Linked DNA regions of Homo sapiens: all the other regions are linked to region 4. Evidence: promoter capture Hi-C in 16 types of primary human blood cells and fetal thymus (Javierre and others, 2016). All regions are on one chromosome and are shown on one strand. The core of a region is centred on a gene start or on the middle of the fragment in contact, and the rest is flanking DNA. Distances in the headings are between cores, read along the strand shown. Region 1 has its middle 28 kb from the start of MRPS18A. Region 2 holds the start of RSPH9 (radial spoke head component 9). Region 3 overlaps XPO5 (exportin 5). Region 4 holds the start of HSP90AB1 (heat shock protein 90 alpha family class B member 1).

What was found. Contacts are between HindIII fragments. The CHiCAGO score rates a contact against its expected background, and 5 or more counts as called.
Region 1: a fragment that was not itself captured here is called in contact with the fragment with the promoter of HSP90AB1 in region 4 in 1 of 17 cell types (naive B cells); the score reaches 5.2 in naive B cells.
Region 2: the fragment with the promoter of RSPH9 here is called in contact with the fragment with the promoter of HSP90AB1 in region 4 in 2 of 17 cell types (activated CD4 T cells and total B cells); the score reaches 5.6 in activated CD4 T cells.
Region 3: a contact is called between a fragment that was not itself captured here and the fragment with the promoter of HSP90AB1 in region 4, in 1 of 17 cell types (non-activated CD4 T cells). The highest score is 5.8, in non-activated CD4 T cells.

What each region holds. Positions count from the first base shown.
Region 1 is chr6:43,714,147-43,716,846 of GRCh38, forward strand. No RefSeq gene overlaps it. Among named protein-coding and RNA genes, the nearest start is that of MRPS18A, 28 kb to the left of the region's middle. The HindIII fragment of the contact is 2,271 bases long and covers 116-2,386 here.
Region 2 is chr6:43,643,665-43,646,364 of GRCh38, forward strand. It overlaps RSPH9 (radial spoke head component 9), which reads left to right and starts at 1,372. Exons shown (of 5, transcript NM_152732.5): 1 at 1,372-1,661. The coding sequence starts at 1,435. RefSeq lists a silencer at 791-979. The HindIII fragment of the contact is 7,744 bases long and covers 531-2,700 here.
Region 3 is chr6:43,571,845-43,574,544 of GRCh38, forward strand. XPO5 (exportin 5) reads right to left here. Exons shown (of 32, transcript NM_020750.3): 2 at 1,636-1,757; 3 at 662-734. Among named protein-coding and RNA genes, the nearest start is that of XPO5, 2.8 kb to the right of the region's middle. The HindIII fragment of the contact is 3,844 bases long and covers 1-2,700 here.
Region 4 is chr6:44,245,670-44,248,369 of GRCh38, forward strand. It overlaps HSP90AB1 (heat shock protein 90 alpha family class B member 1), which reads left to right and starts at 1,432. Exons shown (of 12, transcript NM_007355.4): 1 at 1,432-1,526. RefSeq lists enhancers at 1-488, 1,243-1,997, 2,482-2,531 and a silencer at 692-931. The HindIII fragment of the contact is 5,727 bases long and covers 1-2,168 here.

The DNA of each region.
Region 1 (2,700 bases), core at 1-2,500, 530 kb before region 4:
GGCATGGCTTTGACGGCAGGCCTCACAGTAAGATGGGTGTGCTGGATTCAGGATCTAGACGGTGAGATCCCAGAAAGTGAGGCAGGTAGTGGAACCAAGGGAAGACCTCTCTCGAAGCTTCTTGCCGCTCTTAGAGATGAGGGAGCGAATGTTTTTGGGCATGGACCAGACTGTATCTCCCAGAACTCTCTTGGCAGCCTTGCCAGAGGGGTGCTGTTCTCCCATTGCACAAATGAGGCTGCTTAGGCCTGGAGAGGGTAAGGACCTTGCTCAAGGTTGTACAGACTGACAGCGACGGAGTCAGGATTGTGACCCAGCTTTGCTCAACTACAAAGACTGCCCTCTTTCCACTACACCATGAGGTCACCGTGACCCCCAGGAAACAGGGGGATGGACAATATCAGATGACCTTTTAAAGATCTTTGCCAGCAGAAACATTTTCTCAGTCTCTGCTCCTTGGTCTCCCTCCACACTCACCCCTGCCTCCTCCCGCTCTCTTCCCTCCTCATTACTCAACCAGGAGTAACCCCACTGGCTATCTATCTGTGGGTTGGGGGAGGAGACCAGCAGCTGTAGTTACTCAGATTAACCCTCTGCTGCCTGCCCACCTCCCCTCCACCCCATGGATGTGTTGGTGAGGAACCCCCCTCCCCGCTCCCCTGCAGGCAGCCACTGGCTGAGGGGCACTTCCCAGAATTAGCCACTGTGAACAGCTGGCTGGGGGGCGGGGTTGAGGGGGTAGGTGGTAGAAAGGAGGCTAATAGCTTCCAGATGTGCCAAGGCACGAGAGCCTTGGGAGCTTCAGTTTCAGTGGTCTCCTGTGACTGGGATGGGTTGGCCCTCGTGTCCAGGACTCCAGAATTACTAAGGCAGCCAGGCAGATCCCGACTTTCAAGCTGCATGCAAATCTGTGTGCAGGGTAAGGTTGACCTCCAAGCTGCACCTGCAGGGGCCCCGGGAAAACCCCTGCAGCCCAGCTGCTCTCTGTGGTATTAATACTAACACCATCTACCATGTCTACACTGCCAGTAGCATAGGCAACAGAGCATGGTAGTTTCGAGTGCAGGGTTTGGATTCACAGCGCTTAGAATCAAATCTCAGCTCAATCTCTCAACCAGTTCTGGGACCCAAAGCAAACTGCTCAGCTTCCTTAGCCATGAAATAGTTTCTATTTCATAAAGTTATTATTAGTATTAAATGAGATAATCTATGCAAAGTGCTTAATGCAGTGCCTGGCACATAGGAAGTTGTTGTCATTTAGAGAATACCTACCTTATTTCAGAGGCTATGCAATTTTATCCTTGCAACCCTGGAAGTTAGCTATGAGTAGTCTTACTTTTATGAGGCTATATCAAGGCTCAGAGAGGCTAAGTTACCTGTCCAGGATCACACAGGTGTCAAGTGCAGGGTTGCAACTTGAACCCAGGCCAAATGAACCCTAAAGCCCAGGCTCATTATCCTGTGCCCCTCCCTGTGTGTGTGTGTGTGTGTGTGTGCGTGTGTGCGCATGTGTTTTACATTTTCCCATCAGTAGAAAGAGGTTGTAGGACCTGCTAGGGGCTGAGGGCATCATTTTCTGTCCTGCTTACTGAAGAGAGGCCTGACCCAGAAAAGTAGGCAACAGCTTGGGGGTTCAGAGGGGCCCTGGAAGAAGGCAAGTGCCCTGGAGGGGACACCAGGGACAGGAAATTTCAGGAACATGGAAGGAGCAGAGGACAGAATATCAGAGGTTGGGAGAAGTCCAGGTTGTCCTAGGGTGCCCTCAAAGAGTATCCAGAGCCCCCATGAGCGGATCCTCAGGAGCCACTGACTGCCCTTTCCCTGGGTGTGTTTCTTGCTTTGCCAGTTGCTGCTCCTCTTCTGCACGTCTTCTCCTTGGCTAGTGCAGGGTGGTGGAGGGTCTCCAGAATTCCCCTTTACAGGATGGGGAGGACGGGAGACCAGGGAGGAGGAGAACCAAGAGCGAAGGGGCTGGAGCCAGCCAGCAGGGAGGCCCGCCATTGGCCCAGCTCCCAGGGCCTGGGCCTGAGGACTACGGAGCTGCCTGCCCCTCACCATTCCCTCCCACTGCCCCCTAGGGCTCCTTGGCTGCTGAGCCTGCCAGATGGGCCCCCGCCAAGCCAAACAGCTGCCAGGGGGAGAGGAAGAAGCATTTCCGAGCAGAGAGGCCCCTGTAGGCTCCTGCTGAAGCCTAGAATCCCCCTTTCTCACCGCCAAGTGAAGGGGGAATCTGTGCACATGCACATAGGCATGCACGCATGGCACTGGGGAGCCCAGGCGCAGGGCCACGGGACCTGGGACATGCAGGGGCAGAGGGGTGGGGGTCTGGAAGCAGGCTTGGGCAGGGACCATGGCTGTGCCAGGTAATAGGGAGTCTGGGGAATTAAGCTTGGCTCACTCTGAGGTTGGGGAATGTAGTGGATTGAATAGAGACCCCCAAAGTTTATGCCCACCTGGAACCTGAGCATGGGACCTTATTTGGAGATAGGATCTTTGCAGAGGTAATGAAGGTGAGGATTGAGATGCGATCACGCTGGATTAGTGTGGGCCCCAAATCCAGTGAAAGCGTCCTCCTAAGAAACAAGTAAAAACACTGAGAGACGTGGTGGGGACAGCCGTGTGAAGACGCATGTGAAGGTGGTGTCAGAGACTGGAGCCCACAGCCAAGGAATGCTTTGAGCCACCAGAAGCTGGACAGGA
Region 2 (2,700 bases), core at 122-2,621, 600 kb before region 4:
AGTAGAGACAGGGTTTCACCATGTTGGTCAGGCTGATCTCATAACAATGCCTTCCTAAACAATGCCTAAGCCTGGGCGTGGTGGTTCACACCTGTAATCCCAGCACTTTGGGAGGCTCAGGTGAGTGGATCACTTGAGCTCGGAGTTCAACACCAGCCTGGCCAACATGGCAAAACCCCGTCTCTACTAAAAATACAAAAAATATTGGGTGTGGTGGCACACACCTGTAGTCCCAGCTACCTGGGGGGCTGAGGTGGGAAGATCACTTGAGCCCAGGAGGTTGAGGCTGCAGTGAGCTGAGATCACACACCACTACACTCCAGCCTGGGTGACAAAGTGAGACCCTGTCTCAACCCCCGAAAACCAACAATGCCCAGACAATCAAAAAAGTAATTATCTGGGTTATTTACACACTTATTTATCAGCTGGGGCCCAGGTCATTCTGATTTCCTGAGTGCTCTTCAAAGGAATCCAGAAATGAAAATATCAACTAGCAACATTAACGATAAAGCCCATCTCCTGTGGCAACAAGCTTGCTGAGGAACCTGTTTGTTTGTCCTTGGCTGGGGACTCAAGAAGTGAATGTGGAGAAGTGATCTAGCCCAGGGAGTGAAGCTCCAGTTGCAGTGAGGTTCTGGCCTTTCATCTCTTGCTACCATTTGGATCTAAAAACAACAGTTGGTGGTAGTTGGTAGTTGATGAGAAAGGTGGTAGTTGATGAGAAAGTGTAGTCTATAAAAGTCCCCCTTTTTGTATCTCTCTCCTCACCCTCCTTTCCCAAGGTGTTACCCTATACCTTGCCCCCATTGCCTAGATTTTCATTTGTCACTTAGAATATTTCTATGGAAAGGGTAGATAAAGAAGACAGCTGGTGAAGATGGAAGAGAATGGATGGACCTCATTCTGTAAGACCTGGCTTGGGGTGGGGTGCGGGTGGAGGTAGTCGGGTTGACAGAATCTTAATTAGAGCCAGGAGGAATCTCAAATTCTTCACAGATCATTCTGAGGTCAAGAAGTGACATGACTGGGGTGAAATAGTACAGTTAGTGTCAGTGTTGGGGTTTTGTATTGTTTTCTTTCCAGACCCCAGGTCCATATACAGTAAAGACTCTAAATGTCGACTATGTGAAAGGGCTCAGGGAAGGCCAAATATCTATGGAAAAAGGCTGGGTTTGGACTTACAACCCCAACTGTAGCCTAACTGTAGGGGAAGCCATACTGTGGCCGTGGCAACTGAAGACATCCCGTCCCAAACTCTGGAAAGGATGAGGGAGGGGGCTGATGCCTAGGCCTCCGTGGGGAGGAGGTCTGGGCGGTAGGCGGTGGGGTGGGTGGAACCTAGCGTCCAGCTAGGCGGAAGGGCGGAGCTTCAGGTCTCCATGGAGGCGGCTTCTCCTAGCAACTCGACGGGCGTTGAGCGGAGCCGCTGACCTGATGGACGCCGACAGCCTCCTGCTGTCTCTGGAGCTGGCGTCCGGCAGTGGGCAGGGCCTCAGCCCGGACCGTCGGGCCTCGCTGCTCACGTCTCTTATGCTGGTTAAGCGCGACTACCGCTATGATCGGGTTCTCTTCTGGGGCCGCATCCTTGGCCTCGTCGCCGATTACTACATCGCGCAGGGCCTGAGTGAGGACCAGCTCGCACCGCGCAAGACGCTCTATAGGTGAGGAGGCCCCCGGGACGGGCTCCCCAGAGGGTGGCTACCTGGAGGCAGGGCGGGGTGGGCGGGTCGCAGCAATTGAAAGGGGCGGGGCCCATGGGGCCAAGGGAGGTGTGGGCGGGATCTGAGATGAGTGGAATGGGGGAGACCCTGGGGGGCGGGCCTGGGGACGGTCAAGAGGTGGTTGAGGGAAAGGGCGGGGATGGGGATGTCTCGGAATCTGAGGCTAGGGCGGAGCCTGAGAGGGCGGGGCAATGGACGGGCGATGTCCCCCGGAGGGCGGGGCCTTGCGAGAGCTTGTTCTCCGCCTGAGGAGGCCAAGAGAAACTTACATGCGGATGGGTTTATAAGAGAGACAGGGCCAAGAACGCAGGTGAAGCAGTGGGAAGGTTTCTGGAAAATGCGGACCTGGAGAAGAAGCCAGGTTCCAGCCAAGTGCTGGGCCTGGCTCAGTTTGGAGAAGGCTCAGTTTGGAGAAGAGTCAGACGCCAGAGGGAGAGGGTGGTGCTCTTTGATAGAGGTATCTGCTCTGGAGCTGGAGGCGCTTTTGGAAATAGAGAACGAATGCGGAATGGGGAGAGAGCTGGGGAAAATTCCCTGGTCACTACCATACAGGACCATCCAGCTATTTATTTATTTATTTTTGTTTTGAGGCAGAGTCTTGCTCTGTCACCCAGGCTGGAGTGCAGTGTCGCTATCTTGGTTCACTGCAACCTCCGCCTCCCGGATTCAAGCGATTTTCCTGCCTCAGCCTCCCAAATAGCTGGGATTACAGGCACGTGCCACCACACCTGGCTATTTATTTATTATTATTATTATTATTATTTTAGACGGAGTCTCGCTCTGTCGCCCAGGCTGGAGTGCAGTGGCTCGATCTCGGCTCACTGCAAGCTCCGCCTCCTGGGTTCACGCCATTCTCCTCCCTCAGCCTCCCGAGTGGCTGGGACTACAGGCGCCCGCCACCATGCCCGGTTAATTTTTTTTTGTATTTTTAGTAGAGACGGGGTTTCACCGTGTTAGCTAGGATGGTCTCGATCTCCTG
Region 3 (2,700 bases), core at 9-2,508, 670 kb before region 4:
CATTCTGCATACTTAAAATTCTGCATGTTTTTCATCATTAGTATCACATAGTAGTTGTTTGGAATAAAAGAAAATAGTGTTTCAATCTAATTTAGATCTAAGAATCTTATTGATTTGTTGAAAATATTTAATCCCCTCTGCCCTGTCTTTATAATTTAAAAAATAGAAGTCAATACATAAGCATGATTAATTAAACCTAGTAAGAGACATATGCTGAATTATGCTTTCTGCTTTTGTTTTGTTTTGTTTTTGAGATAGGGTCTTGCTCTGTTGCACAGGCTGGAGTGCCATGGCACCATCACAGCTCACTGCAGCCTGGACCTCCTGGGCTCAGAAAATCCTCCCACCTCAGCCTCCTGAGTAGCTGGGCCACAGGCATGCGCCACCACGCTCAGCTAATTTTTGCATTTTTGGTAGAGATGGGGTCTCACTGCATTGCCCAAGCTGCTCTCGAATTCTTAGATGCAGGTGATCCTCTTACCTTGGCTTCCCAAAGCGCTAGAATTACAGGTGTGAGTCACTGTGCCTGGCCTAAATTATGATTTCTTGTGCTGTCTGACCTATTTAGAAGCAGTGAATTTTTACACAAACTCCCTATTGAAGAAGTCACGCTTTGCCTAAACTACCTTGGAAACATGTCTCCCAACCACCCATTCCTTACATTTGCAATCAGCTCCATGACACTGTTCTTCAGATACACCTTCTCCAATCGAGACATGCCGTTCCACCGAAACCTGACCACCAAAATGCATAAAGTCAATAGAACCACTTTAGAAGTCTTGTCTTTACAAGAGAATAGCATGGATTTCTACATTTGATTACACTGGAGATTTCATTAAGAAATTATACTTTTGATTTTGTACCTGTCAATGAATGGGCAAAAATGATCTACATTTAACCAAAATACTAACACAAAAATTCTTGGGAAAAGGTTTTATATATGCAGTGGTCCATTAACTGGAATCCGCACAAGATTTGTACCACACGTCAGCTTTGCCTCATGATTTTATTGATGGGCCAAAAGTGAATATACATCTAGGTCAACTGCAACAATGTACTTGCTTTTCAGAAAATGCAGTTTTGACATCAGTCATTTTCTGTGCTGGCTTACAAAACAATTCTGGAAAAACTATGGCTAAGTCTTAAAGGCTACCTCTTCTGATAGGTGTTGAGGGTAGGACAATCAAGTTAGGATGGGTTTTCAGTTATTCTCATACAATCCTGCTTTGGATGTACCACCCAGAGAAGGCACACAAACTCAGAAAGACAGAGAGAAAAAAGAAAGCCACAGTGCCTAATCAGAGATTCATTGACCTATACATTGCATTACTCTAAAAAGGCTTCGAGGGCTAATGACATATAGTCAGAGCTCAGTAAGTATTGGCTAAATGGCAGGTAATATTTGTTGAATGGGTAATATGTACCACACACTTTACATGGATGAAGAAACTGAAGAAAAGAAAGGTTAAATCTTGAATGAGAGCTCCTGTGAGGTTCTGATAACATCTAGGGGATCATTCCTCTCTTCTTGGAGATTGCTCTTCTCTACTCACCTAAACAGCATCTCTATAGGTTATATAAGATATAAAGATCTGTTCTCTCAGACTTCAGTGGTAATGTCCAAGAGCTCCTTACTTGACAACGTGTTCCAGGATCTGAAGGCCAAAATGTCTGACGATGGCAACTTGTGTTTTCTCAGCCAACCTCAAGCCACAGGGGACACAGATAGGACACTTTTCTTTAAACTCCTCACAAAACTGAAAGAAGAAAAGTTAGTGTTTCCTTTCGAGGGCTGAGAGAATAGGGACTAAAAGAATTTCATCTTAAGAAACTCCAACCAGGGCCGGGTGCGGTGGCTCACACCTGTCCCAGCACTCTGGGAGGCTGAGATGGGTGGACTACTTGAGTCTAGGAGTCTGAGACTAGCCTAGGCAACATGGCGAAACCCCATCTCTATTAAATATATATATATATATATATTTTTTTTTTTTTTTTTTGAGACGGAGTCTCACTCTGTCGCCCAGGCTGGAATGCAATGGCATGATCTCGGCTCACTGCAACCTCTGCTTCCCAGGTTCAAGCAGTTCTCCTGCCTCAGCCTCCTGAGCCCATGTAGCTGGGACTACAAGTGCACGCCACCACACCCAGCTAATTTTTGTATTTTTAGTAGAAACAAGGTTTCATCATGTTGACCAGGCTGGTCTTGAACTCCTGACCTCAGGTGACCCACCTGCCTTGGCCTCCCAAAGTGCTGGGATTACAGGCGTGAGCCACTGTGCCCGGCCCACTAAAAATATTTTTTTAAATTAGCCGGGCATGGTGGCAGGTGCCTGTAATCCCAGCTACTCAGGAGGCTGAAGTGGTAGGAGAATCACTTGAGCTCGAGAAATCAAGGCTGAAGTGAGCCGAGATCTCACCACTGCACGCCAGCCTGGACAACCAGAGTGAGACCCTACTCAAAAAGAAACTCCAACCTAAGCTATATGTTTAAAGTTGCAAAACCTAGATCAATATTATGTGGATCTCCAAGCACAGTTGCTTTAAAAATATATATTTAATATAAAAATAAAAATATAAAATATATAAAAGTTACACATATATAACATTTCCTCCAAGTGGTGTTCACTCTATTTTATGTGTATATATTATATATATATTATGAATAAAGAACTGATAAACATTCCTTCCAGCGTGATGGTT
Region 4 (2,700 bases), core at 182-2,681:
GGAGGACGATGTGGGTGGCTGTGGGGAAACTCTTCCCAAGCATCCCAGGGGTGGGCCAGGAAGGGGAGCAGATGGACATCTACAGGGCACAGAGCAGGGAGTGGCTATTCTCTCCTGGAGGGGTTGTGGGTCCAGCAGGCTTTCGGATGAGGCCTTGGAAAGGCAAGGACAGCTTGCCAACTGGAGGGCAGGCAAAACGGCTGAGCCAGGCCAGACACGGCAGCTCACTGGCCAGGGGCATGGCCTAGGGGCTCTGGTGCCAAGGCTGAAGGGGAACAACTTGGCCAGCCGCTCTGTGGCCGGCATCGTCACGCGGCCTCCAAGAGCTCCGGCTGCCCTGCACTGGTTCCCAGAGACTCCCTCCTTCCCAGGTCCAAATGGCTGCAGGAGCGAAGTGGGCGGAAAAAAAGCGAACCAGCTTGAGAAAGGGCTTGACGTGCCTGCGTAGGGAGGGCGCATGTCCCCGTGCTCCGTGTACGTGGCGGCCGCAGGGGCTAGAGGGGGGTCCCCCCCGCAGGTACTCCACTCTCAGTCTGCAAAAGTGTACGCCCGCAGAGCCGCCCCAGGTGCCTGGGTGTTGTGTGATTGACGCGGGGAAGGAGGGGTCAGCCGATCCCTCCCCAACCCTCCATCCCATCCCTGAGGATTGGGCTGGTACCCGCGTCTCTCGGACAGGTCAGAGCGGGTCGCCGGGTGGGGTCGCTGCAAAAACCCTGCCCCGGCCGCAGCCGGAGAGGCGGAGCCTCGCGGGGAGGGGGCGGGACCGCCGAGACAGGCCTGGAAACTGCTGGAAATGCCGCAGTGCCGCCGCCGCGCCTTCCGCCGCATGTCGGCAAAGAGTCCCCGCCAGCCCCGGCCGGCGCCCTCCCCCTACGCTGAGCTGCCCCTCAGCGCGAACCCTCCGCCCTTCCTCTACTCCTGCGAGAGTCGGGATCTGGGGCTACCCAAGGTTGGGTCCCGAATGCCAGTCCCTCTGTCGGGACGCGAGATGTGTAGGGCAGATGCTAGGAAGAAGATTGGGTCTGGGAGCGGTGGTCCGCGTGGTTAGCTGCCTCCGCTCTTTTTCGGTGTCCCCCCCAGTCCCGCCCTTGGGTGTGGGGACGCCTGCCCCACAAGTGTTTAGGGAGGTCAGTGGGTTCCTCGCCCGTAGAGACACCGTTTATGCCAAATGAGCACTCCTCATCCCCGCTCTTGATGGAGTCATGTCCTAGACGTGAAACTATGGGGCTGTGATCACAAGCAAATGTGTGGGCGGATCCGTTGCTTGGGTTCTTCCCCGCCCCCTCTTTTTTTCGGACCATGACGTCAAGGTGGGCTGGTGGCGGCAGGTGCGGGGTTGACAATCATACTCCTTTAAGGCGGAGGGATCTACAGGAGGGCGGCTGTACTGTGCTTCGCCTTATATAGGGCGACTTGGGGCACGCAGTAGCTCTCTCGAGTCACTCCGGCGCAGTGTTGGGACTGTCTGGGTATCGGAAAGCAAGCCTACGTTGCTCACTATTACGTATAATCCTTTTCTTTTCAAGGTAAGGCTGAGATCTCCGCTAGGCTTCTTTCCCTTTAGTGCTGTATTCGTGTTGTTTTTGTTTTTTTCTGTCCTTTAGGGAGCCTTAGTCTAGATGTCGGGGTGGCTTGTGGATAACGCTCTGGATTTTTATAGGGTGAGGGTAGTGGTGGGTGAGGTTTTTTGAGTCCTCCTCGGTTTTCTCTAGTGTGTTTGGGGGGTGGGGCTTTCTCTCGGCGCCTGCTGGCCGTAGCGAGGTGGGCTGTGGGGTTGGGGCAGTGGGCGGCTGGCAGCTGCACGTGGTGGCCGCGCGGCCCGGGACGCTGCCATTTTTGCCCCTCCACTTCCGGACGCGGCTACGGGGCGTCGGAGGGGGACCGCAGGGTGGCGGGGGTGCCCGCTCGGGTGACTCAGCACGGCCTTGTGGGACTGGCTTTGTCACCTCTCTTATCGGACGCGTTGTTAAAGCCTTCTTGGGTGCTTTGTTTCTGTGAGGGAGGGTTGACGGTGTGGGAAGAGAGCTTTCGGTCTCCAGCACCCGATACTCCCTCCTTCCAGATCTTTCTTGCAGTCCCGGTGGAGGAGGGGCGGGGAGGGGAGCAGGTTCTGGAAGATTCATGGGCTCCTTCCTCCGCCCTTCCTCGAGAGCTGAGATTGTTCTGGAAGCTTCTGGATTCTGGCGCCCCGCCCCAGTGCCCGGATGCTGGGGCGAGGGAGGGTGCACTGCGGCGCCCCCTCCTCGCGTGGTCCTGGCCGACGCATGTCCGGCAGTGACGAGTGTCGGCCTGGTGGCTACGGCCACCATCTTTCTTGGGTTTGGTCCTGTTCTGTAATTTTGTGCTGTGAAAGGGTCGTGGTGGAGCTTTTGGCTTAAGAATTCTTTGTCCGGATTTAATTGCTCCTCCGGTGGGTATCGTATGGATCCCAGGTTATTCCTCCCTGCCCTATGGGGCAGGAGTGTCCCGCCCTTGGACTGGTCTTAGGAACTGACACCTCAGGGGGAGCAGTTTAAAGTTAGTGCCATTTTTATCTTAAACTAGTCACTTTGATCTCCCCCAAATAAAGAACTGTAGGTAGTGATTTTCACATTTAAATTTGTGTAAGGATTACTTGGGATCTCTAGATACCTGGGTTGGACCAACATTATGATTTTTCTGCCATACTACCAGATGATGCTGAGGCTGCTGGTCACCATT